Regions from separate parts of the Homo sapiens genome. Here all the other regions are linked to region 1. The links are contacts of gene promoters, found by promoter capture Hi-C in blood cells and fetal thymus (Javierre and others, 2016). All regions are on one chromosome and are shown on one strand. Each heading gives the region's core, a stretch centred on a gene start or on the middle of the fragment in contact. The rest is flanking DNA. Distances are from core to core; before and after follow the strand shown.

Region 1 (4,895 bases), core at 2,340-4,839:
AGAAGTCGAGCACAGCAGCTGCTGACCCAGGTGCTAAGCCCCTCACTGCCCGGGGCCGGCGGGGCTGGCCGGCCGCTCCGAGTGCGGGGCCCGCCGAGCCCAAGCCCACCCGGAACTCGCGCTAGCCCGCAAGTGCCACGCGCAGCCCCGGTTCCCGCCCGCGCCTCTCCCTCCACACCTCCCCGCAATCTGAGGGAGCCGGCTCCGGCCTTGGCCAGCCGGGGAAGGGGCTGCCACAGTGCAGCGGCGGGCTGAAGGGCTCCTCAAGCTCGGCCAGAGTGGGCGCCAAGGCCGAGGAGGCGCCGAGAGCGAGCGAGGGCTGTGAGGGCTGCCAGCATGCTGTCACCTCTCAATAGCATTATGCATAATACTACCAAACCTGAAACAACCCAAATGTCCATCAGCAGAAAAATGGATTAAAAAAAATTTTTTTTTTTGATACGGAGTCTCTCTCTATTACCCAGGCTGGAGTGCAATAGCGCAATCTCGGCTCACTGCAACCCCCACCTCTCAGGGTCAAGCAATTCAGCTGCCTCAGCCTCCCGAGTAGCTGGGATTACAGGCATGAGCCACCACACCTGGCTGGGACTACAGGTACGTGTTACCACGCCCAGCTAATTTTTGTATTTTTTGTAGAGACAAGGATTCGTCATGTTGCCCGGGCTGGTCTCAATCTCCTGGGCTCACGTGATCCTTCTGCCTCGGCCTTCCAAAGTGCTGGGATCACAGGCATGAGCCATTGTGCTTGGCCTCTACAAAAAAAAAAAAAAAAATTAGCCAGGCATGGTTGCTCACAATGGTAGCTGCTCAGGAGGCTGGGGCAGAAGGATTGCTTGAGCCCAGGAGTTGAAGGCTGCAGTGAGCTATGATCTTGTCACTGCACTCCAGACTGGGTGATAGAGTGAGACCCTGACTCTAAATAAATAAATAAATGTTTAAAAATGTATTAGTCACTGTTAGAGGTCACTACACTACACAGACTCATTATTTTGCAGAAGGGTAAAGAGAAAAAGCTGAGAATATATGTTACCTTTCCAGTTGGAATTGCATTTTAGTGTAAACTAAACCCAGTTGATGAGAGAAAGCCCTTCTTTACAAAGTAAAATAAGCGATAAACGTGAATTGAATGATAGGATTATAAAAATCACCATTTTGCAACCTCTAATGAAATCATTTAGTCAAGGATGGATCACCAGTGAATAGTGAAACCATTAGGTGAAAAGTTGATGAGGAACTAGATAGTCTCACAGTGCCAAAGTATCATCCAAGAATTACATGCTGGTCACATTAGAAAACCACAGCTTTACATACAGAGATCTGGCTGTCTCTACCTTAAACCAGTGATCAATTTTAACATCACTAATAGAACAGTCAGACATCATGTACTTCCTGAAATGATGCAATGAGAGGCATTTTGCTTTAAAAATTCTTTAATTTGATACAGTCAATACTTCATATATAACTTCTAGTTTACAGGAAATACAGGTGATATACAGGTTATACACTGGAGAAATACAGGGAAATACAACATGAAGAAAAAAATCAGATAAACCCAGAAGAAGAGTTCTAAAGAAAAATTGACCTGGTCTATCAACATGACAATGTCAAAAATGGGGGAGGGGAGAGAGGATATGGTGTCTATGCTAATTTACAGAGATTAAGAAACATAACAAAGGCCGTGGTTGTTCTTAATTGACTGTTATTTTGAACAAAACACCTGAAAAGAAAAGGCATTTTTGGGGAAACAATCTGAGAAATTTGAATATGAACTGAGCATTAAATTATATTAAGGAATGCCCGGGCGCGGTGGCTCACGCCTGTGATCCTAGCACTTTGGGAGGCCGAGGTGGGTGCATCACGAGGTCAGGAGATCGAGACCATCTTGGCTAACACGGTGAAACCCCGTCTCTACTAAAAATACAAAAAATTAGCCGGGTGCAGTGGCAGGCACCTGTAATCCCAGCTACTCAGGAGGCTGAGGCAGGAGAATGGCGTGAACCTGGGAGGGGGAGCTTGCAGTGAGCCAAGATAGTGCCACTGCAGTCTGGCCTGGGCAAAAGAGCGCAAGACTCCTTCTCAAAAAAATAAAAAAAAAAATTTAAAAAATTATATTAAGGAATTATTGTAAATTTTTTTAGGTGTCATAACAGCACTTAGGTTATGCAGGAAAATGTCCTTATTTCTTGGAGATGCATAATGAAATATTTAGAAGAGAAATGTCATGATGTCTATCATTCATGTTTAAATACTAAAAAGAAGCAAATATTGTAAAACATCAATAACCATTAAGTATGGATGATGAGTATGTAAGTATTCATTATGCATTTCTGTCCTTTTTAAATTTTATTTTATTTTACTGGAAAGCAAGAGAGGAAGGAGATCAAATCTGAACTTAAGAAGCTCACTCCCCTACTTATTGGATGACTAGAGTGGAAGCAAAAGAGCAGTTACTAGCTGATTGCTGCAGTGGTCGTGGTGAAAGAGCACAGTGTTTCAGTTCAGGTAGTGAGGATGGACAGAAGTGGACTGATGGGAGATGTATTTTGCAGGGAGAAACCATAAAATGATTGATAGCCTCGAGGTGGCACAGACGGAGAGAAAGGAGAGTCAAAGCTAATGATGAGGCCAGGCCCGGTAGCTCACACCTGTAATCCCAGCATTTTGGGAGGCGAAGGCCGTTGGATCACCTGAGGTCAAGAGTTCAAGACCATCCTGGCCAACAAGGTGAAATCCCATCTCCAATAAAAATGCAAAAATTAGCCGGGCAAGGTGCTGTGCGCCTGTAATTCCAGCTACTAGGGAGGCTGAGGCAGGAGAATGGCTTGAACCCAGAAGGTGGACATTGCAGTGAGCCAAGATCACGCCAGTATCCAGCCTGGCCAACAGAGCAAGACTCCATCTCAATAAAAAATAAATAAAAGCTAATGATGACAGCTAATATGTATGGAGCATGTAGTATGCACCAGTCCAGTCATCCTTCTAAGTGATCCATATTAGTGTAACGAACAAAATCTTCACAATCACTGTGTGAGGCGGGTAGTAACTATTAACACCTCCACTTTGCAGATCAGGAAACTTGGACGCAGACAAGTTAAACAAGGTGCCCAAGGTCATACCCTTAGTAGATGCCCTGCTAGAACTGGAATCTAGGCATGCCTAACCATTTTTTCTTAAGGAAGAGAACAGTATCTTCAATGACAATGAGTAAGAGTACTTATTCTACCCACTTTTCTGCTTCTTGTCTTCGGGTTTATCGTTCTGGACCCACCTATCTTTCCTGGCCCCCCACTTAACTTAACCCTTTTCACCCACCCTGGGGCGGGGAGACAGAGGTGATCCTAGAAGAGGGCTACAGGGATGGGGCCAAGTGGGAATTCTAGCGAGGCGCCTACTATTTGATGGAGGAGGGATGGGCTAGGTAGGTCCCCCGCTCCGACAGGGCTCTTACGCCATATGTGACGCAAATTAGCTTACGAGCCGGGGGTGGAGGTGTCGTCAGCACCCGCCTGCGGTTGGCCGCGTTGCAGCGAGAGGGGCATGTAGACCCCGCCTCGTAGGGAGGTGGGGAGCGGCAAGCCCCGCCTCAGCCCCTCTGGCAGGCTCCCGCCAGCGTCGCTGCGGCTCCGGCCCGGGAGCGAGCGCCCGGAGCTCGGAAAGATGCGGCGCCCGCGGCGGCCTGGGGGTCTCGGGGGATCCGGGGGTCTCCGGCTGCTCCTCTGCCTCCTGCTGCTGAGCAGCCGCCCGGGGGGCTGCAGCGCCGTTAGTGCCCACGGTCAGGAGGAAACTTGGGCTGGCGGGTGGTGGGGGGCGGGGAGCAGCTTGGGGCCTGGAGCGAAACTCGGTGGGGGTGAGGGTGAAATGTCATGAAGCTCGGGGAGAATATGGGTTGGGGGAGGCATGCGAGATGAGGAAGGTGAGAGGGCGTCTCGGAGGAAAGGGGCGTAGGCCTGGAGGTGGGGCTGGGAATACGGGGGCGGGACCTAAGAGAATTGGGCTCTGGGGAAAATTGCAGGTTCGGGAGAAGGACACGGGGTGCATGTGGGCAGAGGGACTTAGAGACCGGCTGCGAGACCACAGGAGAAGCCACTTGCTCCGAGGCGCCTGGGAGGTGGTGACAGGCGCTGAGGAATGGGAAGGGGAGGTGGCGGGGAGAATGAGGGAACGGTGATCTCTGGGCAGTGGAAGCCTGGGCCGCAGACATAGAGTCCCAGCTGGGCAGAGAGAGAGGCCAGGGTTTCTCCGTAAGCCTAGAGAAGCTGATTGCAGCGATCTGATCTCCTGTAACGGGGGACAGCACGGGGAGGGGGCAGAAGAGGATGAAGAGGGGAGGGTCCTCTCTTGTCCCCCTCCCCACAGCCAGGCCTGGTGCTGACTCACATCTGTGCGGACAGAGACAGTCAGCGCTGACTCACGGACAGGGGGTGGGGGATGGGAGGGTGGCGCGTGGGGGAAGGGGCGCAGCCTCGCCGCCTGGCGCCCTCTTTCCCCACCCGGGCTTGGAGGCCCGAGAGGCAGAGTACTTCCTGTGACGCTGTGGGTTGGCAGAATACAACAGAGGGCTCAGGTCTAGTGGAGAGTCCTCGCTCTGTGACCCCTTCCTCTCTGGTAACCGCCTCCAAGGCCAGCCCTTGGCGGCGCCAGACTCAGAGCTTCAGCACCGCGGACAGCGCCAGCGGCTCGGGACAGCGCGAGGAGAGATGCCTAAGAGACACCCTCCCCAGCCCCACCCATGCCCTCTTTCCCCCGACCGGGGGAAGTGTGCTAGAACCTCTTCTGAGTTCCAGGCCATTATAGGATGCTTTTCCATATTTGGGAAGGAAATTCCTCTTTCAGAATTTGGCCAAAACCTCTCCTGCAGTAATTCTATGAATCTCTCTCCCTGCACCTGGAAGGTT
Region 2 (4,895 bases), core at 1,358-3,857, 230 kb after region 1:
CAGCGGAAGGGCTTAGATTAGGTTCCACATTTAGACCCAGGTGCAGCATTTCTAGCACTTCGTTTTGAGGTTAAATACTTGAGCTGAGTGAAGGTCGCCCTGAAAAATTGATGAATCTGTTTGATTCCATGGAAAGGGCAGGAGGAAATGACTCTGGACTGCCTCATTCTGCCTAACCCATTTATGTAGACAGCACAGTGCCTACCAAGTCATGTATGAGTGACCCTAAGAGAGGCATCATTTCTTGGGTAGTATGAAGGGAGATGCTAGAGGTCAATATATAAGGAAGGAGGGCAGCTGTTTGCCTCCCCACCATCAGGGCTCTCTGGCTATGGAGGAGAGAACCCTCTTTTGAAGGCGGTGTCTTGGGAGTTAGAGAGCTGAACTCCTGAGAGTGAGGTAGGGTAGAGGTGGTGTGGCCTGATAGTTTACCTTCCCTGTTTCAGTTCATTCCTCAGGGAATGCTGCCAGAGGGCTGTTAGACTCTAGTGTGATTACTGGCTAGAGGCAAAGTTTGGACTCGGGGCTCTGATTCATTGCCTGTGGTTTCCAGTGAAAGTCCAGGCCTGATATAGTCTTTGTGGGGATAGGGTTGGAGTAGAAATGTATGTGACATTTCCTGGTAATCAACAAGGTTTTCAGCTATCCTGACTGGTTCAGCACCTGCTTTCCTGCTTCTCACACTTTCTCTCTTCTATTCTTCTCCCATGAGAGGGCTTTCAGAAATGAATGCCCTTACAGCACAAAAAGGTGCCCTTGACCCAAGGTATGGGCCAATCCAGGATTCTTGGGTTGGTTCTCATGTGAGCTGCTGGCATGGCTGCTCTTGGGGACCTGCTAACTTGGCTGGGAACCATGGTGATTTGCACGCCTAGGGACAGGTGAAATAGTTCTGGGCCCTTTCCAAGATTCCGAAGTGCAGCCAGGTTTGGGACCACTAGACACTCTACTCTTTCATCTCATTTTTATCGCACTTTGTTCAGTCTTCAGCCATTACCTCAACGCAGTTCAGCCAAGTGTATGAAACTACAACTAGGCAAAGTATTTTGCTGTGGATGTAAGTCCACAGTTCATTCTGTAGTGAAGGAAACAGATAAATATAATGTAATCATAGCAGTGTTTCTCAGCCTTTTAAAAATTATCACTTCCCTAAGGAACCTTTTAAGACATTTTTTGCCTAATCACTCCCTATCAGGAAATTTTAATGCCACAGGTATACCAAAAAATCTATTTATGTACTGTGTGTGTGTGTGTGCACGCTTTATACTTTAAAAGAGTCAGTTTTTTTTACCCCTCAAGAACAGTTTTCACTCCCTTGGGGGAATCTCAGCCAGCCCACTGTGAGCATGTGGGTGATAGTAAAGGAGGGTGGGACAGCAGTGGGGAATGGAAAATGGCCGGGGGCCTCAAAAGCTTTGTCAGCTTTGTTTTTCCTGTCTCCTCTGCCTGAACATCACAGCTCCATAATTGTTTCTTGCCTCTCAGTCTGTCATTACCATTTTGCTCTCTCTCCTTTATCCTGAATTTTATCATTTTTCTCTAGTTTATGAATGAATTTAATGAAAATAGTAATTTGTTCAGCTCAGGGAAAATTTAGGGGAAATAATTTCCTAAAATAGCCTTCTAAGAAATCATCCCTTTGGAAAAAGAGCCTAGAAATCTATAGGGTATTCATGGGAAAACATAATAGACCTAAGGATTAGGGGAAATAAGATATACATTTGGAGTTGCCCTTCAGAGGAGATGTCCCAAGAAATCTTTATATTGGTTGCCACCAGGCTTGGATATGGTCGCCCCCTATTGGATCTAACTGCTTTATATTAATTCATTTGGGGTTGATGCCGGTTCTGCATGTGGGGTATTAGATCGCTTCTCTAGCAATACAGTGTAACCAATGACAGTATCTCCTCTCTCTTACAGAAACTGCCAGAGGCATGCAGCATTGGTGATGGAAAGCCCTTTGTCATGAATCTGCAGGATCTGTATATGGCAGTCACCACACAAGAGGTCCAAGTGGGACAGAAGCATCAAGGCGCTGGTGAGCCCTCCAGAGGTACCCGGTCTGTGTGAGGATACAATTAGGATCTAGGTTTATGCTGTCCAATATGATAGTTTTCTAGCCACATATAACTATTTAAGTTTAAATTAATAAAAATGAAATAAAACTAAAAATGCATTTTCTCTTTTGCAGTAGCCACATTTCAAGTGATTAGTAGCCACATGTGGCTGGTGGCTACCAAGTTAATGCAGACACAGAACATTTCCATCATTGCAGAAAGTTCGATTGGGTGGCACTGGTCTAGGTACTTAGAAGGGTTAGCAAAAGAACCAGGAGAAAGATTAGTTTCCCTGGCTGGGCGCAGTGGCTCACACCAGTAACCTCAGGACTTCAGGAGGCCGAGGTGGGAAAGGCCAGGAGTTTGAGACCAGCCTGGACAACACAGCAAAAACCTCATCTCTTTAAAAAAAAAAAAAATTAATCTCCATACCTGAGACATGTGAGGGAATATGTAGAAGAACAGCTGGCTGTTTTGAGTCGAGGAAACTCTCATCCTACCTGCTGAAAGTGGGCCTGGGGAGATCTTCATAGCAGAAACAGGACTTTCTGAAAGTCAGCTGGAAGTTGGACTTGTGGCTACTTCTGTCTGCTTATATATTTGTACCAAACCCTGGCCTTTATCAGAATGCTTGGTGAATGCTAATATCTTCCTGGTAAGAAGAAGGCATTTATCACTATCTTCTCTTGATCTTTCTGATTTCAGGAGATCCTCATACCTCAAACAGTGCTTCCCTGCAAGGAATCGATAGCCAATGTGTAAACCAGCCAGAACAACTGGTCTCCTCAGCCCCAACCCTCTCAGCACCTGAGAAAGAGTCCACGGTGAGTCATGAGCAGCTTCCTGGATGGTGTTCTGAGAGTTGGCACCTATAGCCCCCAAGCCAGTGGTCCCTGGAATTGCTGCTTCATTGGCACTGCCTCAAAAATATTGAGGGATATTTGTGACCAGGCTCCAAATTGTAGGTGTCTAGATGGAGAGTCATGGTCTTGCACATCTTCCCTTGGTGTCCCTTCTCTGTAGGTCTTGTACGAATGATGTGCCTTGACTCCTCTTTCACCTTATCCCACTTCCGGTGATGGCCAGTGATGACCAGTGATAGTCAGCGAGGCTATTCCTTGGGGGAGAAGGGAATCTACATCTCCTGCTTAGGGTCTTATATCGCATTTGCTGTCTGACATAGACTTCAAAATACCTATGTCAGACACTTCCTGAATGCCTCCTCTTTGTAGCTGGGCATGGTGGCTCATGCTTGTTATCACAACCTGTGGGAGGCCAAGGCAGGAGGATCACTTGAAGCCAGGAGTTTAATACCAGCCTGGGCAACCAAGTGAAACCCTATCTTTACAAAAAACAAAATTAGCCAGATATGGCAGCATGTGCCTGTGGTCTCAGCTACTTTGGAGGCTGAGACAGGCGGATTGCTCGAGCCCAGGAGTTCAAGGCTGCAGTGAGCTCTGATTGTGCCCATGTACTCCAGCCTGGGTGGAAAAAAAAAAAAAAAAAAAAAAAGGCCTCATCCTAACCAGGAGCCATGAGAGGAAGAAAGTTCCTTTCCTAATTTCAGTGGAACTATTTCAAAACCCCTACTAACTTGGGTTCCCTTTTTTCTAGGGTACTTCAGGCCCTCTGCAGAGACCTCAGCTGTCAAAGGTCAAGAGGAAGAAGCCAAGGGGTCTCTTCAGTTAATCTGTTGTGGCCTCAGCTGCTGAGGATGGACTTGGAGAACAGCTTCCAAGCTTCACCTTGAAAGAAGCTTACATGGCAGCAATATTTCTAAAATAGTGATACAGTCAGAGGCCTCCTGTAAGGGCGAGAGAACTGAAGTTGATGTTGACAGGCCCACAGGGAATTGGCCTTCCCTGTTCAAGTGGAAGCCAGTCTCTGAGAATCCCGTGCTCTCCTCTCTTTTGGTGGAGGTTCTGTAGGTTCAGGTTTCTACCATGGACTTTAGGTATATAGGGCAAGTCAGCAAGAAAGCACCACACACTCAGGAAGCCTTGTCTACCTTTCCCTAGCGTCTCTAGCCAGCCAGCCCCAGATACTCCTCAGAGACCCACTTCTCTCTTTTGCATGGAATAAAAAGCACTCACAGTCCCTGCTTTTGGGATTACTTATGCTGTGGAACTCATAACCCAATTCACTTCCTTCACTGGGTCCCACCCCATTGTTGTCTCTGGATGAAGTCTAGCCATCAGTCTGGTCCTTCAGATTCTTCGTAAACTTTTCTGCAGTTGCCAGAGCTAAGTCTCCATTTGGAAACTTTGATCTCAAGAACTCTCTTGATGGTGGGCACAAGACAGATAGGTGATTGCTGCTTTCCTTTGCCAAACTTGGATGCATTTTTCTCTTTGTTTCCAAAGTATAGGCAACAGGTTAAACTACCACGTGGGGTAGTTTATCAATCCTCCCGCCTCATCCTTCTGCATAACTGGGACTAAAGGCACACACCACCACACCTAGCTAATTTTTGTATTTTTTTGTGTGTGGAGACAAGGCTTTGCCATGTTGCCCAGGCTGGTCTTGAACTCCTGGACTCTAGTGATCTGCCCACCTCAACCTCCCAAAGTGCTGGGATTACAGGCATGAGCTACCACGCCTATCCAATTTCTGGTTTATTTACTTTCGATGGTTAAATGCCTCCTTATTCAAATATCCTGTATATATACTGGCGTTTCTGTCCTGATGTCAAGTCTCGAGAGAAGATGATCAAACAATAATAAAATAATTATAATAAGAACAACAATAATAAATAGCTAACATTTATTGAGCAGTTAATGTATACCAGCTACTCTAATGAGCACTTGACATTGATCCTCATAGCATCATATGAGGAAG
Region 3 (4,895 bases), core at 861-3,360, 210 kb after region 1:
CCCCCACATCAAGCCTGCTCATCCCATAGCCTTCTCCTTGGTTAATGGCAACTTCATCCTTTCAGACTTGCTCAGGTTAAAAATCTTGGAGTTGAGCCAGACATAGCGGAGCACATGGGTAGTCCCAGTTACTTGGAAGGCCAAGATAGGAGGATCTCTTGAGCCCAGGAGTTTGAATCCAGCATGGACAATATAGCAAGATTCTGTGTCTGAAACAAATAAATCTTGGAGTCATGTTTGACTCTTGTCTTTCTCTCATACCCCACATCCAATCCATCAAGAGATTCTATTGGCCCTTCTTTCAAAATAAATACAGAATCTGCCTCTGCTCTAATACCTTGGTCTGAGCCACCATCATTTCTTGCTTAGGGGACTGCAGTTGTCTCTGGGTTTCCATCCTTGTTCTCCTATACAGATGTCCCTTGACTTATGATGGGGTTACATCCTGATAAACCCATCGTAAGTTTAAAATATCATAAGTTGAAAATGTATTGAATACACTTAACCTATAGAACATTATAGCTTAGCCTATCTTAAGCATGCTCAGAACACTTATATTAGCCTTCTGTTGGGCAGAATCATCTAACACAAAGCCTATTTTATAATGAAATGTTGAATATCCCTGAATATCTACTGAATGCATATCACTTTCACACCATTGTAAAGCCAAAAAAATCATAAGCCAGGAACTGTCTATAATCTCTTCTGAACCTGGAAGCTGGAGTGATTCTTTAAAGTTCTCAGTCAGTTCATGCCACTTCCTTGCTCAGAACTCTGCAAGGGATTCCATTTTACTCTAAGTAAAAACAGTTGTCACAGTGGCTCACAAGGCCCCTTCTTACCTGATCCCTATAATCTTTCTGACCTCATCTCTTACCACCTTTGTCTCCCTCACTTCACTCTAGCTACATTGGTCACCTTACTGTTTTGTTTAACACCCTGGGCACACTCCTGTCTTATGCCCTCTGCTCCCAACACTTGTGCCCCAGATATCCATAGGCTAATTCCCATACTGTCAAATCTTTGCTAAATGTCATCTCATCAAAGCCTACCCTGATCACTTTATTTAAAATTGCATCCCACCTTTTCATCCCTACATTCCCAATCCTTCACCCTACTCTTTTTTTCCCCCATTGCATTGAACATTTCCTAACATAACTGTAATATTGATGGTGTTTGACTGCTATAATATAAGCTCCTCAAGGGCAGGGATTTTTGTATGTTCTGTTGACTTTTGTTTCTCAGTAGCCAAGAACAGTACCTGGAACATAGCAGGGCCTCAATAAATACCTGTTGAATTAATACTTGTCTACTTTTAGGCATGATTGCGGAGCAAAAATGACTGAAAATCTGAGTCAATTGAGTAGTAATTTCATATATCTCTACAGCACTTTATGTTTACAGAATCTTTCCCAGGTCATTGCCAACTCTTTTTCTCCTGTGTCCTCAAGTATTCTTCTCCTGAGGGATTAGTCTTGCAAAGTTCTATCAACTTTATACAATAAAAATTCAAAGAATTAAAAAATACGTAAATAGCAAGAGATAGGTCCTCTCACTTTCCTCCTGCCTTGAATTATTTAGAAAGAAGGAAATCTTAGAAAACCATGTATCCTTTCTCCAAGTGGCCCTCTCTAAGTTTGATTCCTTGATTTCTGGGCTTTGATGTTGAGTTTTAGGAAATGTTTCTTGATGATGTAGAATGCTTTGTATCTAGGAGCCCCTTAATATGAGTCTCCACCTCTTTCCCTGAATCTAAATCTTGGTTTATCAAGCCTCTTACCCTTTGCCAGTTTTTTTTTTAAAGCTTCTCTACCTAGGCCCAATTCAGATGTTGTCAAATGGATACATTTATTGCTTCGCCAGCTTTTATCTGGTTTTCTGCTTTCAGTCCTCCTCATTACCTCCTGGAAAATGTTTTGAATTTCCTGTGTACTTTGAAACCTGCCCCTTAGCTCTCTGATTGCATTTATAATAGTACCCATACCCCTCCTCCCTGAACTAGATCCTAGGCTCTTAAGAATTTAATCAAGAAACTAATCCCTGCTATGGATGGTGCTCTCCCCATTGGCTGTGAGCTCTCATCCCTGTGGTAAGGGCTTCCTTGAAGTAGTCCAGGCCTGGCCACAAGAAGTTGGCAGAGGCTAAGGAGTCTTTAACTTAGGTTTCAGTTATATGGGGAATGATATGGGAAGGAGACAGCTATTAAGTGACCATTAGGTTTAAAGCATTGTACAATATCACCCAGAAACACATGCTAAGAACTTGATGGTGAGATCTTTTAACAGTCAGGACTACTACTAACTAAATAATTTATCATCTCTCAGTTAAAAGATATACCCATCAAAACTGGAGACCCGGCATATTGGCCTAGAACTCTACATGCTGCATCGGTCTCTTTTTATCATGGTAAGCTTTTGTTTCCATTGTCTTCCCTGACATACTGTCTCACAGATCTTACAAAAGCCACGTCGGTAGTTAGGCTGAATGGAAGTGGGAAAGGAAGAAAGCTGATTTAGCCAAGTGTTTCCTTAGCCACACCCACTGCCCACCTTCTAGGATGGGACCAATACAGTCTTCCACATACCTTGGTCAGTCTTTTCTTTAGATCCTCCTAGGTGCTCTTCTACTCTGGCTAGTGGCCTTTGGGATGGAGTGGGGTGTTGTTATTACCTGGGGTAAAAATCAGAGGGACTAAAATTCCTCTCCCACCCTCTTCCTCTGTTTTGGTGGTTTGGAGGGTCAAGGCCTTGACAGATAATGTTTTATTATTAGCAGGTGTTCAAGATGCCCTGTAACCAGAGCCTAGATTTGGTCTTTCCTTCATCCCCTCACCTGGAGATGAACCCTGGAGTGCTGTTCTGTTGCGTAGGGTCAGCCTGGTGTCAGGGCTGCCTGTTTGTGCCTCCTAAGTGAGCCTGAGGATAGGGGGTTAGCACACTCAGTGGGAATCCTACACCCACAGCTATAACTTCCTGCAAGGAAGTGGAGAGATTATCAGTTAGGAAATGCTAAATTGAGTAACCAGGGCATTCTCTCCTGCTTAGTGAAACCTAGATCCAAAAGAGTGTGAGATGTACTACACCTAGAAATGATCTGGGCATTTTAGAGTACCTGGACTATAGCCAGGAGTGAGGACAGGGATGAAGAGATTCTGAACCGGGGAACTAGAAGTCTCAGGAAGTAGCTCTTAGCCTCAAGCCTGATCATATCCATTTAGGAAAACTTCTTCCAAATCAAGCCTATCTTGACTCCTCTGCAGATTCGTACTTCTCTCTTTTTCCAGTCCCCTTCTCCCAGCACCCAGCCACAACCTCCGCTTCCACAGTACTGCCAGACTCCTGCTCTGAGTGGGAGGTCTGAATTGAAGTATATCTTAATTTCCAGTTCTTTTTTTCTCCCTACCCTCCATCTTTTTCTGGGATCTTTTTAATGGCTAGTAAGTCCTGCTTAATTTTCCCCAGGCACTGGATGTTAGGGTCATCCTAACATTTTAGATCAGATCAGATCCCTCCATCACCACCCCAGCCATGGGTTAGGCAGGTACCCTGTTGAGAATGAGTCTTTTAAGTTAAACTGGTGGCCGATAACTCAAGCCTAGCAGTTGACCTTCTGTCCCTTCGACTTCCTCACCTCAAAACCTGCCAGTCTTGATTTCCTGGAAAGTGACTTTGTATCCAGAACTTACTAATTTTTCTCTAGAGCCTCTCCTCAGAATCCTTGCCCATCTTTAAACTTGGAGTCTAGTGGGACCAGGCATTGACACAGGCTGGAGATTTCCTCCACACACGTTCCGTGCTTGGACTTCAGTAGTCACTGCTGATGTTGTGTTAAGTAATTTCATTTTCCATTTGTGTGTTTGGTTTGATTTGGTTTCACTGTGTCTTTTTAAAATATTTTTACTATAAAATATTTAATACACACAATAGAACATATAATAAAGCAAACACTATATACCCACTATTCAACTGCATTTTTAAACATTTAATTAATAGTAACATTCAGTTCCTTTCCCAGTCACTTCTCCTTTCCTGTTTGCCCTTAGTGGTATTAAAAACAGTGGGAAGAGCAGCTGGAGAGGCCTGGAAGGTCATTCTGTTCCCTTCTCCACAGAAGTGGCCCCAGATCTACATCTGTCTTGTGGGAGTTTAGGCACTGACCATTCTGTGTTCAGGGCACAGTTTATCCCTCTCAATTTTCCCCTGCCAATAATATCAAAAATCTGTTTAAGACACATTTTGCAAGAGGACCTCTGATAGCTTAGGATTCTTCTTCTGGCCATTTATATATCCCTCTTGTCCTTGCCTCCTTAAACCTAAAGATGCACAGTTTCAGATAGTGCCCTGACTTCTTTACTGATTGTTCATCCTGCTCCGTTTCCTCTGGCTCCTACGAGTTCACTGTCTACCTGTTGATTAGTCGCCCTGCCTGCCAGGGTAGCCCTCTATGTAGAGGACAGGTGGCTTTCCCTCCTCCCTAAGGTATTCGACAGTGGTACCTTCTACAGCAGGTTTATGGAAATCAGCAGCTGTGGGCTTTACAGAATCTAGAGTATACGTACCCTGAACCGATTATAAATTAAGGAATTTCTCATCTGGAAGGCTGTTAATATACACACATATACATAGTCTATTACAAACATGTTTCAGTGAGCACTTTTGTTTAAAGTATTATCTCAGCAATTAATTGTAAGGCAGAAAAATCCCCTTAATTAGCTTAAGTAAAAACGGGTTTTACTGAATAGGCACAGGGAGGTCTCTTGGTACCTAATTTCAGATGGCTACCCATGCCTCACAGAAACTGGACAGGCAGCTTCTTTCTCTGGGATCTCAAGATCTCTTATCTCTGCCCCCCACAGCCAATTTGTTTCTACTCCTGCAGACCATTGACTGGCATGT
Region 4 (4,895 bases), core at 805-3,304, 190 kb after region 1:
CAGTTCCTCACCTCTTTCTTTGTTAACCAGGAAGAAGTCAGAGACGGACTGTTGTAGAGGGAGTGAACAGTAAGCCATGCTGATCTAGGTTGATGACAGCTGGCCTGATGTCCCAGGCTGAAGTCTTTGAGGTTTACCCAGGGTGGCGAATGCTGGGGGCTGCCATTGCTAGGGTTATTGCTAACAATTTCGATTCCTCCTATTTCCTTCTCCCTCTCTCTACCTCTGCCCCCACCGCCAGGATTCTATAAATACTTTATTATATGGCACTAATAAAACTTCAAGTATTTCTTTTTATTAGAGCTACATAATATGGTAATTGTGTGACAGAACACAGCGCCTGAGAGTAGCCCCCACCCTCTTCCTAGGTGTGGCCTCTCACCACCTCAGCTTGGGCTAGGCCTACAGGCCTCTCTGTTCCTCTTGAGTGTGGGTAAAGGGGGTCGGATCAGCTTTTCAGGCAGAGCTAAGGGGTGAAGGCCTTTGAGTAGGATCAGGCTAGAGGAGTAAAGACGCACTTTTCTAGTTTTAAATGTAGTCTGTCTTGGTGGATGAGTACAGCAGGAATCTTATTAGCATTAATTCCAGCCACTGCATGGGGTTACTTAACCTGCCTTTCCTTTTAATAGTTCTGTCATGTGACATAGAAGTAGATTTTGAACTTAGACCCAGGGCTAGGCGTACATGGGTTTCTTTGGTTAACTTTGATTCACAGTACTTTTTGTTTTGTTGTTTTTGTTTGTTTTTAATAATGATCATCATTCTTTCTGATGTTTCCTGGGTTGAGGATCTGTAGGTGGAAAAAGATTCTGACTCCTTCTGTCTCTCACTGCATCAGTCGTAGAATAGCTTTCCGCTTAAGTCTCAGTCATTGTTTTCTGTGTCCACTAGTCTCATGGGAGGGTATGGGGCTGGAAACTCCAGTCTATAGAACTTTACTTACTGTTAATGTGTGATCTACAAAATATGTCTTTGTTGCCTAATTGAGCCTTGTAATTTGATTCTGGTTTTTGTCCTATGTGATCTGACTGTCAACCTTTCCTACCCCTCTACTGTAGCTATTGAACTAGGTCAGTGTATCCCTACCAGTGTTTTTCTGAATTGAGTATGATTTAGCCTCTACATCCTAACTTCTCCAAAGCTTGAGAATTGGGGATTCCTGCCTGGGTAGCTACTAACAGAGCCCCCCAGTGCCAGGGACGTAGGACACAATGTTTAGTTCTTTCTTAACTGCCTGTGTGCCCAGTGTTTGCATAGGGGCCAAGCTCCAAACTGGCCTCCGCTATCCACTCTTTACTCCCCATGGGGATGTATGGGCATATGCGCTTTCTACTTTTTGGGCCTAGCCAAGGTTAATATTAGACCTTCTAGCTGGGCTGCTGTTCCCGAAAGCCACAGGGTGTTGTTAATATTCATGTGACCGCAGAGGCTCATCAATATTCATGAGGTATCTGCAGTCTTCCTTCAGGCCCTTAGTTTGGAGAAAACAGGAATGATTAGAGTTTCTAGAACTTAAAACTAACCCTATTTCCTGGAGTCTATTGAGGAGGAGGCAAATCTTAAGAGTAAATGTCTGGGCCAGGAGAAAAAGCATTTTTCATGCCAATATCCTAAACTGGTCTGACAACTTAGTGGAGTTGTGCTGAATGGCTGTTATTAATGTTATCATCCTTATCCAGCATTTATTGAATACCACTGGGTTTAGGTTCTTGTACCAGTACTATGGGGGATAGGAAACTAACATATTTAAGTACTTACTGTGCCAAGGGTACAGAGATAACTAACATGATTCCTGCCCCCAAGAAGCATATGGCTCAGAAAATGAGATAGATAGGTGTACACACACTTATCTTACCAAAGTAAGAGTGCTGTAATAAAGACAAACATGAAGTGCTCAGTGAGGACAGATGAGGAAGTCATTCCCTGGTGGGGAAATTAGTGAAAGATCCCCAGGGAGCTCTTGAAAGGTGCGTGGATCTAAGGAAAGTAAAGTAAAATTTTTGTGACTTCTTGAATAACCCTCCACAAGGCTGTAAATACCCTCCTGGGCTCCCTACTTACCAGCCGTGGCTGCTGCTCCTGCTGTCAGATGGTTCCCCTGTGGTCTAGTCTCTTGTTGAATAGAACTTCTTGCTTATAAAGTGGTCTTCTACTCCTTAGGTGGGAGATATTGCCCCACCTTTTTTCTTGAAAGATTTAACTAGTAAGAGCTCCCAGTTGCGATATAGTTCTTGGTATATTTTGGGTATTTAAAAAGATGAATATAATTCCAGACTATAATTAAAAGAATAGCATGAAAACCCCAAGCCACCCTACTATTGTATTTAGCATTAGTTGAGCTCTTCAGGTTTTTAAACAATTTTCATTAATTTAATTTTTTTTTTTTTTAAGATAGGGTCTATTGCCCAGGCTGGAGTGTGGTGGTGCAATCAGGGCTCACTGCAGCCTCGACCTCCCAGGCTCAACTGATCCTTCCACCTCAACCTCTCAAGTAGCTAGGAGCATGTCCAGCTGATTTTTTGTATTTTTAGTAGAGATGGGGTTTCACCATGTTGCCCAGGCTGGTCTCAAACTCCTGGACTTAAGTGATCCACCTGCCTCAGCCTTCCGAAGTGCCAGGATTATAGGTATGAGCCACTGTGTCCAGCTGCTCTTGAGGTTTTGATGTCACGTGTGAAAGATGCACGGGGGCCTTAATGCCCATAGAAAAAATCAGAACAATAATAAAAGAGGTGGACATAGGATAAATAAGAAAAATCCAAGGACAATGGAATTATTTAATTCAGAGAGTAGATTGAATGGTAGTTCATTCTTTTAAATATGGAAAATTAACACATATAGGATAGTAAATAGCTTTCCTGCATTTTGCTCAAGATAGTACAAGAAGGGATAAACTTGAATTATAAGGATGTAGTTGAAGTAGAGAGAATTTTTACCTGACTAGATTATGTTACTAGGGAAGCTTTGGGAACTCCTTTCCTAGATTTCTTTTTTTTTTTTTTAGACAGAGTTTTGCTCTTGTTGCCCAGGCTGGAGTGCAATGGCGCATTCTTGGCTCACTGCAACCTCAGCCTCCCGGGTTCAAGTGATTCTGGTGCCTTAGCCTCCCACGTAGCTGGGATTATAGGCATGCACCGGCATGCACCACCATGCCTGGCTAATTTTGTATTTTTAGTAGACATGGGGTTTCACCATGTTGGTCAGGCTGGTCTTGAACTCCTGACCTCAAGTGATCCACCCACCTCAGCCTCCCAGAGTGCTGGGATTACAGGCATGAGCCACTGTACCTGAGCTGTTTCTTTAAGATTCTTTACATAATGATCAGTATAGTAGAGTCCTGCTTGGAACAATTAGAGGACGAGGTTAGGAGAGGACATGGCTAGCCCTAAGATTTGGTGGCTCTCTATTTCCCTAGATTTATTGGCTCATACTAGGGCCGATCAGAGACTTTTCTCTCTTCTACAAATGGCAGTATACTTGATGGAGCCCCACATATTTCCCAAGTTGACATTTGGGGGAAATACTTGCATATAATTTAAGCTAGCAATCCTAGGTATTGAATAAATATCGCCTCTTCTTCATTCTTTCTACAAAGACCTGTAAATCTTGAGGTCTGAGGAAGCTGACCTTGGACACTGGCATGCAGTTCCTAGAGTTAGGTCCAGGAATGGGGTTTAGGGAAAAAACATAGCCAGAAAGAATAATATTAACACTTTTTTATATACTCATTCATTGCCCCCTATTCTGATTCCTTCTTCTTATATTTCTTCATTTTGCCTTTTTCCAAAGCCTGTTTATATTTTTGTCTTGATCTTTGCTATTCACTTACATTTTCTTTAAGATGAATGAGAAATTGCTACACTACCTTATTGAGTCAGATAAATGATCCTAGAATGTAGCCTTTCTGAGAGTATGGACCTTGTGTGACTCACTCACCACTGTACCTCCAGTTTGTGGCTGGCATATAATAGGGGCTGTAGAAATTGTTAAATGAATGAAAAAGTATCTTTGTGAGATGAAGTGACTGCTCAGTGAACTTACTACATATTAGAATGTTTGCCCAGAGTGAAGACCATAGGAATGGTACAGCAGCATAATATATCTAAGTCATTGCTTTTTGGGTGATACTGCGTTCATTAGTGTTTGATGACAAACACTAGATCATGTCCTCTCGGTGCTAAATTCGAATTTCTGTGCCAAACCAAGAAAGCCAAAACAGTGTGATATAGTAATTTCAAAATATGTGGACTCTATTAAGTAGAGAAAGGGTTTGTTGAGTATTTGTCTTTCTCAAATCGGCCAGACTCTTGGAGAAGGAACGTCACAAAGAGCTGTAGGACTGGATATAAAAATCCTATGAGAATGTTCTGGCTAGTTAGGGTCCAAGGAAACAGGAGAAGATTGGAGCACTGGATTTCTCCAGTGTGCTCCACAGGAATACTCTCTTTAATAGAAATTATGGTTTCTCTTCTCTTAGATTAAATTCCTTTAGGATTTATGGTGAATTAAGGAAGGTAGCTTGAGGTCCACTCAATTCAAAGATCTGTTCTACTCAGTTGTCATGAAAGGACAGCAGGTGGCGCCAAAACATTGTCCTACTTGTGCTGGGCCAGGGGCAGGGTGGCGGGGAGGACTCAGGTTTGTGAGGGGGAGGGATTCTCTTCTGAAATAGGGATGGGGGAGTGGGGGATTGGTTACCCTGGCTGTTGCTCAGGTAAGAAATTATTGTGGGCTTAATGTCTTCTAGCTCCCCATCACTGGAATCTCTACCCTTAACGTCTTGATTTGACAGGAAGGTTGATGGGGAGAGGGGGATCCCAGCAATCCAGAGTGGAAGACAGTTCACTTTCTGTCCCTGGCAAGACTCCTTTAGGGCCAATTCCACCAGATGCCAT
Region 5 (4,895 bases), core at 1,564-4,063, 170 kb after region 1:
CTTTTGAATCTGCCTATCTTCTCTATTCTACCTCCCGTTGTCTGAAATTAGCCATTTTTCTCTCCCTTTTCCCCCACTCCCCCCCTGCTTTTTTTTTTTGAGACCAAGTCTCACTCTGTTGCCCAGGCTAGAGTGCAGTGGCACAATCTCGGCTCACTGTAACCTCTGCCTCCTGGGTTCAAGAGATTCTCATGCCCCAGCCTCCTGAGTAGCTGGGACTACAGGCTTGAGCCACCACGCCCAGCTAATTTTTGTATTTTTTGTAGAGATGGAGTTTCACCATGTTGGCCAGGCTGGTCTTGAACTCCTGACCTCAGGTGATCCACCTGCCTTGGCCTCCCAAAGTTTTGGGATTACAGGTGTGAGCCACTGTTCCTGGCCTTTCTGTCCCTTTTTTGGCTTGACCATGCAACAGCCTCCTAACTTGTCTCCTGGTCAGTTCTTATTCCCCTGCAGTTGAATTTGTAGTTTTGTCAGAGTGATGTCTTTGAAACTGAAACTTGATTATGACACTTTTTGCTCAGAGTCCTTTAGTGGCTCCCGGTTTCCTACAGGATAAAGTTCAAACTCCTTGCACGCCACACGTGATCATTTATGATTTGATCCTTTTGACATCTTCAGCCTGCTCCTCTGGCATTCCACTATAACATCTTTAAATACCACCTTGTGGATGAATCTCACATTTATTCTTCACTGTAGGTCTTACCCTGAAACTCCAGACTGCTTGTTTAACATTTTCATGAAGAAGTTTAAAAAATATCTTAAATTCAACACGTCCAAAATTGAACTTCCAGTCGTATGCCCAGATTTACTTTTCCAACAACCCCCTCCCATCTAAGTTGATGGAAGGTTCATTCTTTCACTTTTAGTTGGGTGAAAAAACCTTGGAGTCATCCTGACTGCTGTCCTCTCACTTCCTACAGCCAAAGTCCATCAGGAAATCCTGTTGGCTTTACCTTAAAACTATGCCCGTAATCTCACCTCTGCTGCTACCATACTGGAGCCACCATCATCTCCTACCTGCATTATGGCAAAAGCCTCCTTATTTGTATCCTGCAGCTACTCCTACCCCCTCCTGGCCTATTATCAACAAAGCTATCTTATTAAGTTGCAAGGCACATCGTGATATTCTTCTGCTCAAAGCCCTTCACTGGCTTAACACTTCATTTATAGAGTAAAATCCAAAGACTTTACCATGGCCTATAAAACCCTATATGATCTTATAGAACTCTCTTACCTTTCTGACCTCATCTCCTACAACTTCCTCCCTCATTCACTCCACTGCAGCCACACTGGCCTCTTGCTGTTTTTCTAACACTCTTAAGTGTTTTTCTAACACTCTAACACTGCCTTTAGGCCTTTACATTGGCTGTTCCCTCTGCCTGGAATGTTCTTTCTTCAGATATTTGTGTGGCCAACTTCCTCACTTCCTTAAAGTCTGTATTAGTTATCCATTGCTGTGTAACAAATTGTCCCAAAATTTAATGGCTTAAAATAACAGGCTGGGTGCGGTGGCTTACGCCTGTAATCGCAGCACTTTGGGAGGCCAAGGCAGATGGATCATGAGGTCAGGAAATCAAGACCATCCTGGCTAACACGGTGAAACCCTGTCTCTAATAAAAATACAAAAAATTAGCCGGGTGTGGTGGCAGGCGCCTGTAGTCCTAGCTACTTGGGAGGCTGAGGCGGGAGAATGGCGTGAACCTGGGAGGTCTCAGAGCTTGCAGTGAGCCGAGATCGTGCCACTGCACTCCAGTCTGGGCGAAAGAGCGAGACTCTGTCTCAGAAAACAAAAACAAAAACAAAAAACCCCAAAAAACCAAAAACACATTTATTATCTTGCATGGTTTCTGAGGGTCAGGAATCTGGGAGCAGCTTAGTGGGTGTGATTCTGGCTCAGTGTCTCTCATGATGTTGCAGTCAATATGTCAGCTGGTAACGCAGTCATTGTAACATCCGGATAATTCATATCCAAGCTTTCTCATGTGGCTGTTGGCAGGAGGTGCCATTTCTTGCTATGTGGCCTGTCCATAGGGCTACTCACAGGACCTGGTTTCCTCCAGAGCCAGTGATCCAAGAGACAAAGACCAAGGCCAGGTGGGGTGGCTCATGCCTGTAATCCCAGCACTTTTGGAGGCTGAGGCGGGCAGATCACCTGAGGTTAAGAGTTCAAGACCAGCCTGGCCAACATGGTGAAACTTCGTCTCTACTAAAAATACAAAAATTAGCTGGACATGGTGGCATGCACCTGTAATCCCAGCTACTCAGGAGGCTGAGGTGGGAGAATTGCTTGAACCCGGGAGGCAGAGGTTGCAGTGAGCTGAGATCACACCACTGCACTCCAGCCTGGGCAACAGAATGAGACTCTGTCTCAAAAAAAAAAGAAAAAGAAAAGAAAATGAGAAACGAAACCAAGACCAAATGGACCTGCAGTCCTTTTATAACCTAATTTCAGAAGTTACATTCTATCACTATCTCACTGTATTCTTTTTATTAGAAATGAGTCACTAAGTCTGGGTCACACTTAAGTGGAAGGTAATTAATTAAACTTCACCTCTTAAGGGGAGCTGTGTCAAAGAATTTGGAGACATATCTACATAGACTACATCCATCTACATGGACTACAACAATGTCTTTTTTCAAATGTTACCTTCCCAATAGAGTTTACCCTGACTACTCATTTAAAGTTGTAAGCTCCATTTGTCCCCCCTGCACCTTAGCACTCCCATTTCATCTTACCATCCTCTACTTTTTATTTTTTCTATAGCACCTAGTTTCCAACATATTGCCATAAAATTTACTTATTTTATTATACTTACTGTTTATGGTCTATCTCCTGTCTGTTAGAATGTAAGCTCAACAAGGACAAAGATGTATGTTTTGTGCACTGGTCTAGCCCAAGTGCCTAGAACAGTGCCTCCACACATAGTAGGCACTCTATAAGTGTTTGTTGAATAGAAGAAGAAATCATATCTTCCCACTCTTTTTTATTTTCCTCCTCTTATGAATAGGCCAGCAAATAATCACCTATTGGTAGCCTTAGACATAGGCAGCCTTACATGTAAATAGATGAGTAGCCTATATTCCCATTCTACCACCTGCCTTATTTGTTTGACATTTATGTTTTCTGAAAGGCAGTCCCAACTTCGGGATGAAGTGTATATAAACCTTGAATCTTTTATTATTGAGAAATCCCAGAACCTCTCTTTTTTTAGAGCCAGTTAAGAGACTAACACCTCAAAAGTCAAAAGAATAAGTACCTAACAAAATCCTGGAAAGAAAATTAGTCTTAGAGTCACAAGGGCTCCACTTCCACAGTTAGAAGGGCTACCCTTTTACCATGTACCTGTTGTTCAATATGTAGAGAAAGCCATAGGATTCAGGGTGGTTTTTTTTTAGTGTCCATGTGGGCATCGTAAAAAAGGATAAGTCTAGATGCATGAGAATATGCTCCCTCCTATTATGTGTGTCAGTTCTCCGACCTAGAAAAACTTGCAGTTAATTCATCCTTTCGGTATTCGGTCAGGTGCATGCGGGCTGAATGAGGTTCTGTGAGCATATAAGGTATGATAATATTGCCATCAAAGAGCTTATAGTGCTTAGTGAATGATAATAAGGGCCATAGTAGTGGAGTGATTAGAAAAAGCTTTCTATAAATGGCAGGACGTGAACTGGGCTTTGATTTAGGCTTTGATTGAAAACTATGTGGAAGACATTTTAGGTGGGAAGCACTTGGGCAAAGGATGGAAAATAAGAATAAGAATGGATGAGGATTAGTAGAAAATAAAGTTAGCAAGATAATAACTTGAGGCTAAATTGTGGGGGCCTTAAATGTTGGGCTGGCAGATTAGTGTTTTATTCTGAAGGTGGTTTTCAGTTTTTTTTGTTTTTTTTTTTTTTTTTTTTTTGCCTGTAACACATTTATTTCTCCATTTAGTTCAATTGTTAACGACTGTCATTATGTGCTGTGATTCTCAAGTGGGGACACATCTCCTAGGAGGGAGATGGGGCACATTCTCCTTGCACTTATTAATTACTGTTGCAGATAGTGGGAAGCCATTGAAAGTTTTGACTGGAGAATTGACATATGAAGGTGATCTTTAGGAATATTAGGCTCTTGGTCATATGCTTATGTGATTTGAAGAATAGTGATGCCATTGATAGACTAGGAAGATCATGGGTGGGGTCGGTTTAACCGTGGGCATATAAAAGAATTGTTTTCCTTACTGAAAATATGAATGTACCAGTATTTGAGCTCTGGAATGAAAATCTCCAGGGAGGAAGGTATGGCTGTGCATGTTTCTCAACTATATTTTGTTTTTTCTGAATTTCACCTTCTCTTTGGGGTTTTCTCACTGTGAATCCTGTAGTAACCAGGGGTTACCACTTCTTTTTTTTTTTTTTTTTCTCAAGAAGAGCTAAAAAGACCTCTTTCTTTATTTTCCTTTTGCAAAGGCTTATAAGGGCTTATGTTTTCAAAAGGAAATTTATTAAAAATTTTAAAGTAATTTTTTAAAAAAATTGTTAAAATTTTGAGAGAGAAAAAAAAGGAAATCAATATAGAAAATACAAATGGGGCCAGGTGCGGTGGCTCAGGTCTGTAATCCCAGCACTTTGGGAGGCTGAGGCGGGCAGATCAGTTGAGGTCGGGAGTTTGAGATCAGCCTGGCCAACATGGCGAAACCCCATCTCTACTAAAGATAAGAAAACTAGCTGGGTGCAATGGTGGGTGCCTGTAATCCCAGCTACTCAGGAGGCTGAAGCAGGAGAATCGCTTGAATCTCGGAGGCAGAGGTTGCAGTGAGCCGAGATTGTGCCACTGCACTCCAGCCTGGGCAACAGAGCAAGACTCCATCTCAAAGAAACAAACAAATAAAGAAACCAAGTAGGGGCTA
Region 6 (4,895 bases), core at 2,396-4,895, 150 kb after region 1:
ATTACTGCACTCACTGCTGACACAGCCCATCTTCCTGGCTGGACTCTCAGGCTTCCTACTAGAGAACACGATTCCTGGTAAGTTGAGGCTAGGCCCTAGCAGACTGGGGAGTGGCCAGGAAGCCATCCCTCCCTGGGATGGGCAATAGCCTGACAAACCTCTCTTTTGCAGGCACACAGCTTGAGCGAGGCCTAGGTCAAGGGCTACCATCTCCTTTCACTGCCCAAGAGGCTCGAATGCCTCAGAAGCCCAGGGAGAAGGCTGCTCAAGTGTACAGACTTCCTTTCCCCATCCAAAACCTCTGTCCCTGCATCCCCCAGCCTCTCCACTGCCTCTGCCCACTGCCTGAAGACCCTGGGGATGAGGAAGGAGGCTCCTCTGAGCCAGAAGAGATGGCAGACTTGCTGCCTGGCTCAGGGGAGCCATGCCCTGAATCTAGCAGAGAAGGGTTTAGGTCCCAGAAATGACCAGAACGCCTACTTCTGCCCTGGTTAATTTAGCCCTAACTCTCATCTGCTGGAGAGTCAGCTCCCAAACTGTTCTTTCTTGTAGGCAGAGGATATGTGTGTGTGTATTACATGGGACTGTCTAGAGGTTCCATTTCCCAATAGGGTGGGTTGCCTTTCCTTGTCTTAATTAGGCCTAACTGTTCCAGAGCAGAGGCCATGATTTAGTGGACCATGAATGATTGAGATTTTGCCTGTGTACTATCAATGCCACTTGAACCCCAGCATTCACTTTAATACTTACTGAGCATCTCCCATGTGCAAGGTCCTGGAACTACAGGGATAAGACAGGGTCCATGCCGTCTCAAGGCATTTACGGTTTAAAAAGACCTTTGTAATTACTAACGAAAATGCAAAGCAGAAAGCAGTCTGTAATAAAGATTAAAATAATGCCGTGGGAGCAAAGAGGAAGGGATAATGAATTCTGATTGGGGACAGTGGGAAAGGCTTTATGCAAGAAGCAATGAGGATGGCCTTGACAAATGAGGATTTTTGGTTTTGGAAAATGGATGCAGAGAAGTTTTCAGGTTCGGGGTCCAGCTTGAGCAAAGCCATGGGTTGTACAAAGTCCAAGATAGGTGAGGGGTTTCAAATTTCTCAGTAGTGAGGGAGTATAAGTACGGGGATGATGGAGAAATGAAGCAGGAGAGGTAAAGGATGAGGTCGGACTATGGGACTTATGCCTGGGAGACTCCTTCCTTCAACAACTCTAGTGCTGGTGGAGGACCTGAGAGATCATCTACAGAAGTTCAATCCCTTATTTTGTTAAAAAGAGACCGGATAGGTAGGGGAGGGAAGAGAAGTGACTCAAGTTTGACAAATCCAAACCTGGGCTCCCCTCTCCTGCGCCTCGCCCGCTATTCTTTCCACTCGGCCAGCGTGACTCCAAGACGCGCCACTACCCTTCTACTAGCCGGCTGCCCGGCCTCTCCTCCACTTACCCTGGCCACTGGGGCGCTCCTCTCATCAGTGTCCCAGGCCCAGAAGCCCCGCCCACGCCAGGCATAGGCCCCGCCCCTGTATCCCAAGACCCTGCCTCCTCTTGCGGTGGGGGGAAAGCGGCCTCTTACTCTAGGCCTTTCGGTTTGCGCGAGCGGGCAGGAAAGCGTGCGTGCGGCTAAGAGAGTGGGCGCTCTCGCGGCCGCTGACGGTAGGTGGAATCGCGTTCGAGTCCGGGCAGGAGCAAGCCAGCGAGGGGCTGCTCAGACGCTGCGGGTTGGCCCTGGCGCTGGCCTTTTCTCCCTGGAGGGAGCGCGCGCTGCCGGGGTCCAGGGCAGGCCTCCGGGGGAGGGGTGGGCGGGGCCGCGCGTGCGCAGTCCGCTGGCTGCTGCCCGGCGTGGATGGTAGGGCTCGAGTGAAGGTACTCGTTGGTCGCCTGTTTGGTGCGACGAAGCCGCTGGTGGCCGGCTTTGTTGCCCCTTGAAGCCGCGCCCCAGTGCAGCCAGTGCTGTAGAAATGGGAAGGCGGACAGCGAAGGCTGTTATAGCTGGGGCGGGTGGAAGCGGGACGCCTGGCGGCTCCTGGGGTGGGGCTATGGTTGTGGTGGGACCTAGGGTTCGCGCTGTCCCAGGGGGACCGGGCGGGGCCCAGCCGGGATGCTCTCTGGGCCTCTACTGCCCTCTGCAGGGCGTCGGAGGAACTGCCCAGAGGGGTCACTGCTGAGGAGCGGACTCGGTGCAGATAAAGGTTCTCAAGGGACCCCTCCGCCGGGATGCCGCTCAGCGCCCCTCCACTCAAGAGAAATAAACCCGTGAATCTCGTTAATGTGAATGTTAGAGGCAGCCTTGAAGGAAAAAAGAAAAGGATGAAGTGTAGAAGCTTCGGACGCAGAACGGGACGCGTGTGGTGGGAGCAGGCAGCCGGGGTCTGGTGCCCAATGTGTCAGGCCTTTTTATAGGGCCCGTTACTCCTGGCCACATTTTAAACTCCTCCCCCTTTACCCAACAGACAAACAAAACCCATCAATTTGAGGGTTCTGAGCTTCCGGGCTTTCCGAAGGAATGGGCTAGAATAGTAAACCCAATTTTGGCAACTGTTAAGAGTACACTGGGGAGTGCCTATAAGGGAGATGAAAGTGGCGACTTTATTCGCGTTTGTGACCTTTGGCATTGTGGAGCTCTTGTCCGGCTAGGACTAGCTTAATCATCCCATGACCACTTCTGTCCCCATAAGAGCAGCATGTGGGAAATGTGACGGAAACACCATCCTCCAAACACAAGGCTTTGAGGATGCCATAAAGAAAGATCACCACGTATATGTATATATATGCATATATATATATGCATATATATATGCATATATATATGCATATATATATGCATATATATATATGCATATATATATGCATATATATATAAAGTTATGTCACAAGTCACAAGGGCACACTTCAAAAGCTAGGGGAAATGACTGTGTTAATCAGACTTAATAAGGAATTTCATTATTTACATTCTAAATTTTTCCTTCCTGGTACTTCTGTTCATTTTATATTTGTAGACTGGAATAATGAAGGAAATTGACATATTTTTTTCTCCCCCACAGGAAAAACAATCACATTCTCTGTCAAGCAGCCGTAGTTCTGATTGTCTACTAGGTTAAGCCTACTACTTTAGCTGCTGAGATAGAAAAGTTGTTTTGCAGGGGTTCCAGGCTGGGCATGTTGTCATTGGTGGCAGTGCACTGGAGTGGGAATGTGGAGGATGAGTTAAGTGGAAGTTAATTCAGTCTTTACCTCTGTGATGTGCTCTGCCTTGTATTCATGATTTCCTAGTCATTCTGGTTTTTGTTGAAATGAAATTTAGGTCTTTTCTGTTGCTCCTGGACACAGGTTCTTAGCTCTTTTTTGTGTCATCGATCCCTGAGAGTTTGATGATAGCTGTAGACCTCTTCCCCCTCCCCATGCATATATGCGTGTACACATAACATTTTCATATAATTCTAGAGGATTCACATGCATTGACTCTAGATTAAGAACCTGTTTTAGGGATTTTTAAAAAAATCCTGAGAGCTTCCTAAACTTTGTTTTTAGATAATGATCAAATACTTCGAATTTCCTGGCCCTGACACTATGACTTATGATGTTTTATAAGACAAGAACTATTCCTTCTCTTCTAGTTCTGGGAAAGGATAGGAGTGACATATTTATTAGGAATGTGATAAAGATGGAACAAGAAGGGTTTAGGTTTCCACGTTATGTTATAGTATTAGAAAGCAGAAATACTAACAGCAATATGCTGAGGTTTAAACACTATGGAAGAAAGATTTTCTGTCCTCTAGGAATGTAATATGGGAAAAAAAAAACCCTCAAGATTTTAAATATACTTTTAGTGGCCAGGAGGTAGTAAAGTCAGTGCTCAGCTGGTTGTATACTGGGAGAACGTAAATCCATGCCTTCTATTTTATCAGGGAGGATTTTCATGAGATTTTAGTTGATACAGACTGGTTTGGGTGGTGCCCTCCCTAGGCCAGCATGACCCTGAGGCTCTTTACTAAATGAGGACTTTTTTGCAGATGGAAGAACTGGAGCAAGGCCTGTTGATGCAGCCATGGGCGTGGCTACAGCTTGCAGAGAACTCCCTCTTGGCCAAGGTTTTTATCACCAAGCAGGGCTATGCCTTGTTGGTTTCAGATCTTCAACAGGTGTGGCATGAACAGGTGGACACTAGTGTGGTCAGCCAGCGAGCCAAGGTAAGTATGAGGAGAAGTACTGCTGTGTCGGGGATGTGAACATCAACCAGCTTGCTGGCCTGTAGTTTCCCAAGGAAGGTTGAATCGGGTTGAGACAATTCCAGTTAATGTCCTGTACTTCTACCTGTACTTCTGCCTGGAATCTTTGTGTGTGTGTGTGTGTGTGTGTGTGTGTGTGTGTGTGTGTGTGTGTGAGAGAGAGAGAGAGAGAGAAAGAAAGTTAGTTTCCCTACCCTATGCATGATAATGAATATATTATTTGATCTAGATAGGCCTTTTGTGATTTAATCTTGCCCAAGGCAGAATTGTGAAGTAGGCCAATTGGTCTTTGTGACTCTCTTCTTTTTGTTTTCTTCTTTCCCCTTGTGATGTTTTTATCTTCTCTCCCCTTCCTCTCATGTCCATTGCCTTCGTGTTAACCAGGGCTTTCCTTTGCTGTTACTTATGAGGGAATTAGTTTCCTTTTAGCACCCTTACTCTGTACCACTGCTCTCTCTTTAGGAGCTGAACAAGCGGCTCACTGCTCCTCCTGCAGCTTTCCTCTGTCATTTGGATAATCTCCTTCGCCCATTGTTGAAGGACGCTGCTCACCCTAGCGAAGCTACCTTCTCCTGTGATTGTGTGGCAGATGCACTGATTCTACGGGTGCGAAGTGAGCTCTCTGGCCTCCCCTTCTATTGGAATTTCCACTGCATGCTAGCTAGT

Evidence for each region. The method cuts DNA at HindIII sites, captures the fragments that hold promoters and counts their contacts. A CHiCAGO score of 5 or more calls a contact.
Region 2: a fragment that was not itself captured here is called in contact with the fragment with the promoter of PTPRN in region 1 in 3 of 17 cell types (erythroblasts, M0 macrophages and naive B cells); the score reaches 8.4 in erythroblasts.
Region 3: a contact is called between a fragment that was not itself captured here and the fragment with the promoter of PTPRN in region 1, in 5 of 17 cell types (erythroblasts, naive B cells, naive CD8 T cells and 2 more). The highest score is 6.6, in erythroblasts.
Region 4: a contact is called between a fragment that was not itself captured here and the fragment with the promoter of PTPRN in region 1, in 7 of 17 cell types (erythroblasts, neutrophils, M0 macrophages and 4 more). The highest score is 8.2, in erythroblasts.
Region 5: a fragment that was not itself captured here is called in contact with the fragment with the promoter of PTPRN in region 1 in 1 of 17 cell types (neutrophils); the score reaches 5.0 in neutrophils.
Region 6: a contact is called between a fragment that was not itself captured here and the fragment with the promoter of PTPRN in region 1, in 16 of 17 cell types (fetal thymus, activated CD4 T cells, erythroblasts and 13 more). The highest score is 10.0, in fetal thymus.

Annotation. Positions count from the first base shown.
Region 1 is chr2:219,308,095-219,312,989 of GRCh38, reverse strand. PTPRN (protein tyrosine phosphatase receptor type N) reads left to right here and starts at 3,589. Exons shown (of 23, transcript NM_002846.4): 1 at 3,589-3,772. The coding sequence starts at 3,658. The HindIII fragment of the contact is 26,349 bases long and covers 1-4,895 here.
Region 2 is chr2:219,075,232-219,080,126 of GRCh38, reverse strand. NHEJ1 (non-homologous end joining factor 1) reads left to right here. Exons shown (of 8, transcript NM_024782.3): 6 at 1,921-2,038; 7 at 2,763-2,881; 8 at 3,672-4,895. The coding sequence ends at 3,746. Among named protein-coding and RNA genes, the nearest start is that of IHH, 17 kb to the right of the region's middle. RefSeq lists an enhancer at 2,044-3,243. The HindIII fragment of the contact is 2,383 bases long and covers 1,416-3,798 here.
Region 3 is chr2:219,092,785-219,097,679 of GRCh38, reverse strand. All of the region lies in intron 5 of NHEJ1 (non-homologous end joining factor 1), which reads left to right. Among named protein-coding and RNA genes, the nearest start is that of IHH, 34 kb to the right of the region's middle. The HindIII fragment of the contact is 607 bases long and covers 1,807-2,413 here.
Region 4 is chr2:219,119,313-219,124,207 of GRCh38, reverse strand. All of the region lies in intron 5 of NHEJ1 (non-homologous end joining factor 1), which reads left to right. Among named protein-coding and RNA genes, the nearest start is that of NHEJ1, 39 kb to the left of the region's middle. The HindIII fragment of the contact is 1,821 bases long and covers 1,144-2,964 here.
Region 5 is chr2:219,136,584-219,141,478 of GRCh38, reverse strand. All of the region lies in intron 5 of NHEJ1 (non-homologous end joining factor 1), which reads left to right. Among named protein-coding and RNA genes, the nearest start is that of NHEJ1, 22 kb to the left of the region's middle. The HindIII fragment of the contact is 1,670 bases long and covers 1,979-3,648 here.
Region 6 is chr2:219,157,481-219,162,375 of GRCh38, reverse strand. NHEJ1 (non-homologous end joining factor 1) reads left to right here and starts at 1,561. Exons shown (of 8, transcript NM_024782.3): 1 at 1,561-1,656; 2 at 4,014-4,190; 3 at 4,692-4,895. The coding sequence starts at 4,014. SLC23A3 (solute carrier family 23 member 3) reads left to right here. Exons shown (of 12, transcript NM_001144889.2): 11 at 1-77; 12 at 172-911. The coding sequence ends at 467. RefSeq lists a silencer at 1,777-1,896. The HindIII fragment of the contact is 2,637 bases long and covers 2,327-4,895 here.